Linked DNA regions of Homo sapiens: region 1 is linked to region 2. The links are contacts of gene promoters, found by promoter capture Hi-C in blood cells and fetal thymus (Javierre and others, 2016). All regions are on one chromosome and are shown on one strand. The core of a region is centred on a gene start or on the middle of the fragment in contact, and the rest is flanking DNA. Distances in the headings are between cores, read along the strand shown.

Region 1 (3,251 bases), core at 501-3,000, 210 kb before region 2:
GAGATTCTGCAATTTTGGAATCACATTTATTACAATGAGGTAACTGCTTTCTTCTTATTTGTTATCGTTTGCTAATTTATGGATGAAATACATTAGAGGAAGCAAGGCCCAAAATGGCAGAAACAGAACAATGATTCCCTTCCTCTTTTCTTCTCTCAATTTATCACCCGTCCTGTGTGTGGACAGACAACTCACCTTCCATTTCCATCCGGCTTCTCTAACTGAGTCACCCAACCCTGGTCACCATCCCGCCCAGCCCACAGGCATCCCCTGCCCAGAACTGTCAGTTTATCTTGCTTTAAGTATTTTCTCTCCCACGTATCCCATTCATTTATCTATTTTCACAATCTAGACAAAAGTCTTTGTTCACTTCATTTTAATTTCAACCAAAGTGTTGCACTCCTTCCTTAGGATTCATGTGGGTGTTTCTCCTCAAAGAGATGCTTTCTTGCTTAGCACTGTTCTTCCTTTCTATAAGGTGGAGACTGCCCCTACTTTTTCCTCTTATGTTTTCCTTTTTTCAGTTGAGTTCGCATGTTTTTACAGCAGCTACATTTTCTCAAATAATTTCCAAACTTTCTCAACTTAAAACAATGAAGAGAAAATTAGGGTGCACTTGAATATATAATGCTAGGATTCCCAGAGCTGCCATCAGTAGTAGCTTCTGTTATTTGGGATCCCCAGGTAATAATAGTAAGTTGCAAGCATGTGTCACTTGTCCCAAAATGGTCTCTGGGGTTTTCTGATTTTAAAATTCCTTTATTTTCCACTACTTTCATATAGAATCTTCATGCTTATCTTAATCCCTTTTCATCACAACTAAGGGATTTTGTGACTCAAAGGCTATTCCTCATTGTAATTTATAAAGTGTTACTTTTTTATTATTTCTCACTAACTTTTTAATACTGTAGTTGTCATAGAAGAGATGAAAATTAGAGAAAAGTGTATAAAAAAGTGAAGATTTCAGGTGAGCTGGCGTAGGACCTGTGTCACATCAGCTTTATTCATGAATTGTAACGTCCTTTTGAAAATAAGATTCATTTTCATCTTTTTTTTTCCCAGGTGCTCTTTTGTTAAAATATTCAAAAAAATCTGAACTGTGGACGGCCCAGGAAACTATTGTCTATTTGGGGGACTACTTGACTGTGAAGAAAAAAGGCAGACAAAGAAATGCTTTTTGGGTTCATCATCTTCATCAAGAAGAAATTCTGGGGAGGTATTACTTAAAAACATTTGTATAACTAATGTAAGATGAGCTAACCTTGCTCTTCTGTTAAGTAATCACTCATGAGACTTCGTAGGGGCTGAAAAACTTGGCCAAAATATATTTCCAGATTTCTACTCCTTTTTCTTTTCATTATTAATTAATTAACAACAGTTACTATATATTGAGGACCCACGTTACATCAGCTGTTTTGCTGGATGTTTTAGCTACAGGACCTCAAAACCATCAGGGAAACATTGGCCATACTGTACTGATAAGAAAAATAAAGTTCCTGGCCACATGACAGGCCAGAGAGCCTTCAATATTCACTAAAAATGCTGGCAAAAAAAGGTAAATTATGAAAAGCACACTTTTAAGTAAATAGGTGAGCCTGAAAAAAGGCAGGAAAATCCTGAGTCCAGGGATGAAGCCTGTTCAGGGATATAAGTGATTGCTGAACCCTTTAGGGATCCCGCATAGGCGTTTGAGGCAGGGGTGGAGTGAGGGTGCAGCCCGTAGCAAAAGCTACACCCAGAAGGGAATGAGTTCAGATACCACTCATACAAGCAAAGACTCAGGAATGGCTACATCCCCACGATAAAGGGTATCTTTGAAAACCCCACCCCAGTGAAGTAAATGCCTGGAAAGTTTTTGCTTTGGCCTTAGTTCTTAATAAAAATTTTAAACAAAAACTCACCTGAAAAATTAGTAACCACAGGTGGTCTTCATTGGATTTAAGACATAATTTTTTATCATTTGTATATTTTAAAAGACCTATAAGCCATGACTTTTCATTTAAAGTTGGCCTTGTTATTTGCTCAAATCCAAATAGTGTAAGAAATAAATAGAAATAGAGAAATCAAGTGTCTCTGTAAGCAGTGGAAGTACATTTCTTGAAAAGATTATTGATTATTATTATTATTTTAGTAAACATATGCCAGGTCCTGTTTTAAATGATTTATATGCTAATTCAATTAATCTTCACAAAACCCTCTGAGGGTAGATACTATTATTATTCTCACTTTACAGATGAGGGAACTGAGTCACAGAGATGTTAAGGAATTGCCTGAAATCACATGTCTAAGCAGTAGGGGCATGTGCTGATGCTTCACTTGTGTCTCCCAAAACTCATATATTGAAGTTCTCAGTACTTCAGACTACGATCTTACTTGGAAGTAGAGGGATTGCAGATGTAATTGGTGAAGTTAAGATGAAGTCATACTGGAGTAGGGTGGGCCCCTGATCCAATATGACTGATATCCTTATGAAAAGAGGAAATTTGGAGATAGACAAAGACGCAGAGAGAATGCCATGTGAAGATTGTAGTTATGTTGCCTCATAGCAGAGAACTGCCAGAAGCTGGGAGACAGCCTGAAACAGATTCTTCCTTAGAGCCTTCAGCAGGATGATGGCCCCATTGGAACTTTGATCTTGGACTACTATAGGCTTCAGAACTGTGAGAAAATCAATTTCTGTTATTTACGCCACCCAGTTTATGGCATGTTGTGACAGCAGCCCTGATACACCAGAGTATACCATAGGAGGACCTGAGATGAGAATAAATTGAGAATAAGAGACATAGAGAATGGAGTGGCAGAGTTCAATATATTTCTGATCAGAAGAAAATAACAGCAAGAGAGCAAAAACAATATTTGAATAGATACTTTCTGGTAATTTTTCAGAATTGCCAAAATACACTAATCTTGAAATACAGAAATCACAGTGAATCCTAAGGACAGAAGGGAAAGGAGGAAAGAAGCTGGAAGGCAGGTAGTCAGACATCCTGTGTACCTAGTTTGACTAGGTACACAGTAGTCAAACTCCAAACACTAAGGACAAAGAAACCATTTTAAAAGCAGTCAAAGAAAATAGACAGATTACGTACATAGAAATGTCAATTTGACCTACAGCTGGTTTCTTCATAGCAACAATGGAATTCAGAGACAATGGAAGTCATATACTTAGTGCAACTCTCTTTTATGGAGGAAGACAAAATAAAGACATTTGCAGCTTAAAAGGAAAAATGACCATGGCAGTTTACCATGAA
Region 2 (3,799 bases), core at 497-2,996:
ACCTTAAAACACAATAACAAAAAAATTTTGTAACAAAAGGTGTGCTGGCTTGGAGACACCTCCACTGAAACATGGAAGCACTTACTTTTGTTTCACACAGCAGGTACCCCCATGTTAAAGCAAAGGGGATCCCTTCAAATGAGGTTAGCGTGTTCTATTTTGGAGAAGTAAATTGGATTCACTCCTACTAAAACATGGAAGCACTTACTTTTAAAGTCACAGAAAGCACTTCCATGTTAAAGTTGAAGGGAGCCCACCCAACATACAACTTCTTTGGACTTCAGAGTATTTAGAGCTGAGGAGAAAGAAAACAAAATGGCATAACTTTAGAAGAAAAAAATTTTTTTACCTTCCTGAACTAGTTCCCAAAGATTCGTGTTCTCCTCCAGAAGGGTAAAAGGCAGGGACTTCAGCCACTTCTATTTATACTATTCTTAACTCTTGAATTCCTTTTGCCTTTTTATCTCAGAGAATCATTACAAGGGCCTTTTGTTATTTTAATGTATCAGCTCTCAGGGAATGTATGATCCTGGGTGGGTCTGGATCCTTTTTTTTTTTTTTGAAGTATACAGATGTCAATGTTAACAGCTAAAACCATTACCACAAGATATCTTCCTCTTAAAAAAAAAAAAGAAAAAGAAAAAGAAAATCTCCTATCTGCTTGTTTGATGGCATAGATTAGGGTAACAATGAGTGCTCCCACTGAGCCGAGAAAGGCATTGTGTTTCTATCTGGAGGAACTCTGTTTGAAGAAGCATCTACATGTTAAATGTATGTAAATAAATAGATTGCTTCCACGGGGTGTTTTGTTCTACTTAGAAATTCTTTTTGATTCAAGTAAATACTAAGGAATGTTATCTCTCAAATTGGAAGCAGTTTAACAAATCTTTAATCTCGCCCTTTTCCCACAGAGATGACTGATTTAGTAAATGTTACTAGTTAAGGAATTAATGCTAAAATTTTACTTTTATAAATTAAAATACTTCAGACACTCAAAAATTTAATTGGCAATCTTAAAACATTTAATCTGAATATTGGGGGAAGAGGAACTCCCTTAGCTTATTTTGCTAAATGTCTTTAGAACCTAGGAAATATTTTGAATATGTGTTTAAAGAAACAGGAAAGTTGGTGGAGGAGTTGCTCCAAGTCATTGTGAATGTATATATTTAGATATTTCCCTATTTACTTTTTATATTTAGTCATCTGTTATCACCATTTCTTTCCTTGTAGGAGCGAATGGATGGATTTGAAAAAAGAGTATTTAGCGCTACAAAAAGCTAGCATGGCTTCTTTAAAAAAAACAATATCCCAAATAAAATCAGAGTCAGAAATGGAAACAGACAGTGGAGTACCTCAAAACACTGGAATGAAAAATGAAAAAAGTAAAGATCACTGATAGTTTTGACAACATTATAATGTACTTATATATGTAAATGCTATCTCTGAGTTGTTATAAGATAAATTTTAATTTTAAAAAACTTGATTATTCTATTTCATTATTAGAACAATTCTTGATTTGTTAAGTTATCCAGATGTGTTACTTACTCTTGATATAAGAATATTTAAAAGGCTCATTTAAAACAATTTTTTAAATAACCTGAGTTTTCTCTACAGTTTTCATCAAGCACATGAGTGCAGAGTTTGCAGACTGAGCAAGTTTGTAGGAATGAAGATTGTAGTTTCTCACCTGTTAATTTCATTCTGTAGTATGCACCACAAGCAGGAACAAGTTAAAGCAGAATTCCTATGAATTCAAAATTAGGATACATTTTAAATTCTCATTTCTTGTAAAAATAAATGTTCACGTTTGAATAATAATGTATTTAAAACACAGTATCCTTTAACTTTTTTTTAACTTTATTGAGTAAAAATTTACTGTTCCTTTGTTCAGGGAGAAGGGGCAAATTTAAAGGCTTTACGAATGCTCTTCTAGCAGTAACAATTTGCATGTAGAATAATAAAACTTTCTGAGTTTTATTCATGGTATTTTGAAATAAGCAGTATGACATATAACCTTTAATTGTTTACTTTAAAATTAAATACGTTTTAAATTATTTAAATCTGCCTCAGGAATTATTCTAAGGTAGTCCTCCTAAGTATTAAATTGTTGTTAAGTGTAAGAGATTTAGTCCTGGTCTTTTTCCTTTTCTAATCAGCAGCCAACAGGGAAGAGTGTCGCACCCAGGAGAAAGTTAATGCAACAGGACCACAGTTCGTGAGTGGAGTGATTGTGAAGATCATTAGCACAGAGCCTCTACCTGGCAGGAAACAAGTCCGGGTAATGATTTTGAGCCCCTAGGGTATTTGTTCCTTTCTTCTCTTATTATTTCCCTGTGTGAAAATGTTTTGAATATGGAAGATAAAACAAATCAAGTTAGAATTTGTTTCCCTATGGTAAACTACTGTACAGTTTTAATTCCATGGTAACTCTTAGGTTTAATTTTGAAGCAAAATCTAGAGGCTGAAATTCCTCACTAAATCTATATGTAAGCACAGTTTAAACATCCTTCTCTATAGGAAAATTGTAACTTTTGCTTATTTTTATTGGCACTGATTTTTTTTGTATTACCTATGTGCTGATTATCTTTAAAATTTTAATTATAGAAAAGTAAAATATTTTTGAAAACCTCTTAAAATTTTTCACGCATGTGCCAAAAAACCCATACTTCTATATAATTTACGCTACAAATTGCTGTACATACAGGTTTATAATTTTTTCGCTTTATACAGTCTATCTTCTGTAGCCTTTTATACCACATTGGTAGCAATACTTTCTATTAGGGAAATTATATACTTTTAGGTGAGAGTACCATATCTTATTTACCCTTACCCTGCCTGTCACCCATTTAAGTGAATCCTTTTCTTTTTAAAAAGTGTGAAATGCTCTGTAACATACCACATATTTTAAGTATTTTCTTATACTGACATTCATCATCACTTAGTATGTTGTTTTGGTTTTACGTAGACTCATCAGTCACAGGTTTTAACTTGAATACCATTGAGGTGGTGGTTTGTTTATCTGTAAGCCCTCCTTATCTGAAATACTGTCCTACAATCCTATAGCTGTCACTAAGAAACAAATTTTGATCCTCTTTGCAATGTTGGTGAAGGATTTGGCCAAATCCAAATTGCTATTACCAGCTTGCATTTCAGGAGACAGCTGAAAATTGAGGGATGTAAATACTGCTCTGATTAATCAGATTGCAAAACATTTAATACAAAAATTGCTCAGAGTTATTTCTAATCAACTCATTAAATAACTTCTGTTATTTAAAGGGTAACTTTATCAATTACAAATTCATCATTTATGATCATCAAAATCATAAAATCAATCCCTGCATTAATCCAGTTAGTAGTTACTTACATTTTGCTGAAACAAAAACTGAGCTGTGTTGGTTACAACTGTCTGTGACTTGCCCATGTGATTACCAGGCTAATTTGTCATTCTATGGGTTTTAAATTCTAAGGGTTTTAAATCAAGAGATTAGCCTGACATTATAATGGATATTTAGTATATATCTTTTGAGTTGTAGTAATTGAATATGCTCAAAAGTCAGTTATAAAACTCATTACTACTACTGAATGCATTCAAATTTCAACAATACTGAGTTTTTTACTTGCTTTATATCTAAATTTGGTACTAATTAACTAGGTAAAGAAGTGGGAAGGACTAGCAAGTGTAAGTCTCTGCAGTTTTTTTTTTTTTAATTTGGCAAACAGTTACTAAATGCCTGTTTTGTGATAGTTGCTGAGTGTTGGGATGAGTTAAGATCTAGTCCCTGGCTTCTAGAAACTCACA

What was found. The method cuts DNA at HindIII sites, captures the fragments that hold promoters and counts their contacts. A CHiCAGO score of 5 or more calls a contact.
Region 1: a fragment that was not itself captured here is called in contact with the fragment with the promoter of MIR302CHG in region 2 in 1 of 17 cell types (neutrophils); the score reaches 6.7 in neutrophils.

Annotation. Positions count from the first base shown.
Region 1 is chr4:112,434,086-112,437,336 of GRCh38, forward strand. ALPK1 (alpha kinase 1) reads left to right here. Exons shown (of 16, transcript NM_025144.4): 12 at 1,063-1,216. Among named protein-coding and RNA genes, the nearest start is that of NEUROG2-AS1, 80 kb to the right of the region's middle. The HindIII fragment of the contact is 6,124 bases long and covers 1-3,251 here.
Region 2 is chr4:112,648,305-112,652,103 of GRCh38, forward strand. MIR302CHG (miR-302/367 cluster host gene) reads right to left here and starts at 1,747. Exons shown (of 3, transcript NR_146092.1): 1 at 1,688-1,747; 2 at 209-295. LARP7 (La ribonucleoprotein 7, transcriptional regulator) reads left to right here. Exons shown (of 13, transcript NM_016648.4): 9 at 1,231-1,382; 10 at 2,157-2,278. MIR302C (microRNA 302c) reads right to left here and starts at 126; the gene lies at 59-126. It overlaps MIR302B (microRNA 302b), which reads right to left and starts at 253; the gene lies at 181-253. RefSeq lists an enhancer at 567-1,289. The HindIII fragment of the contact is 6,288 bases long and covers 1-3,799 here.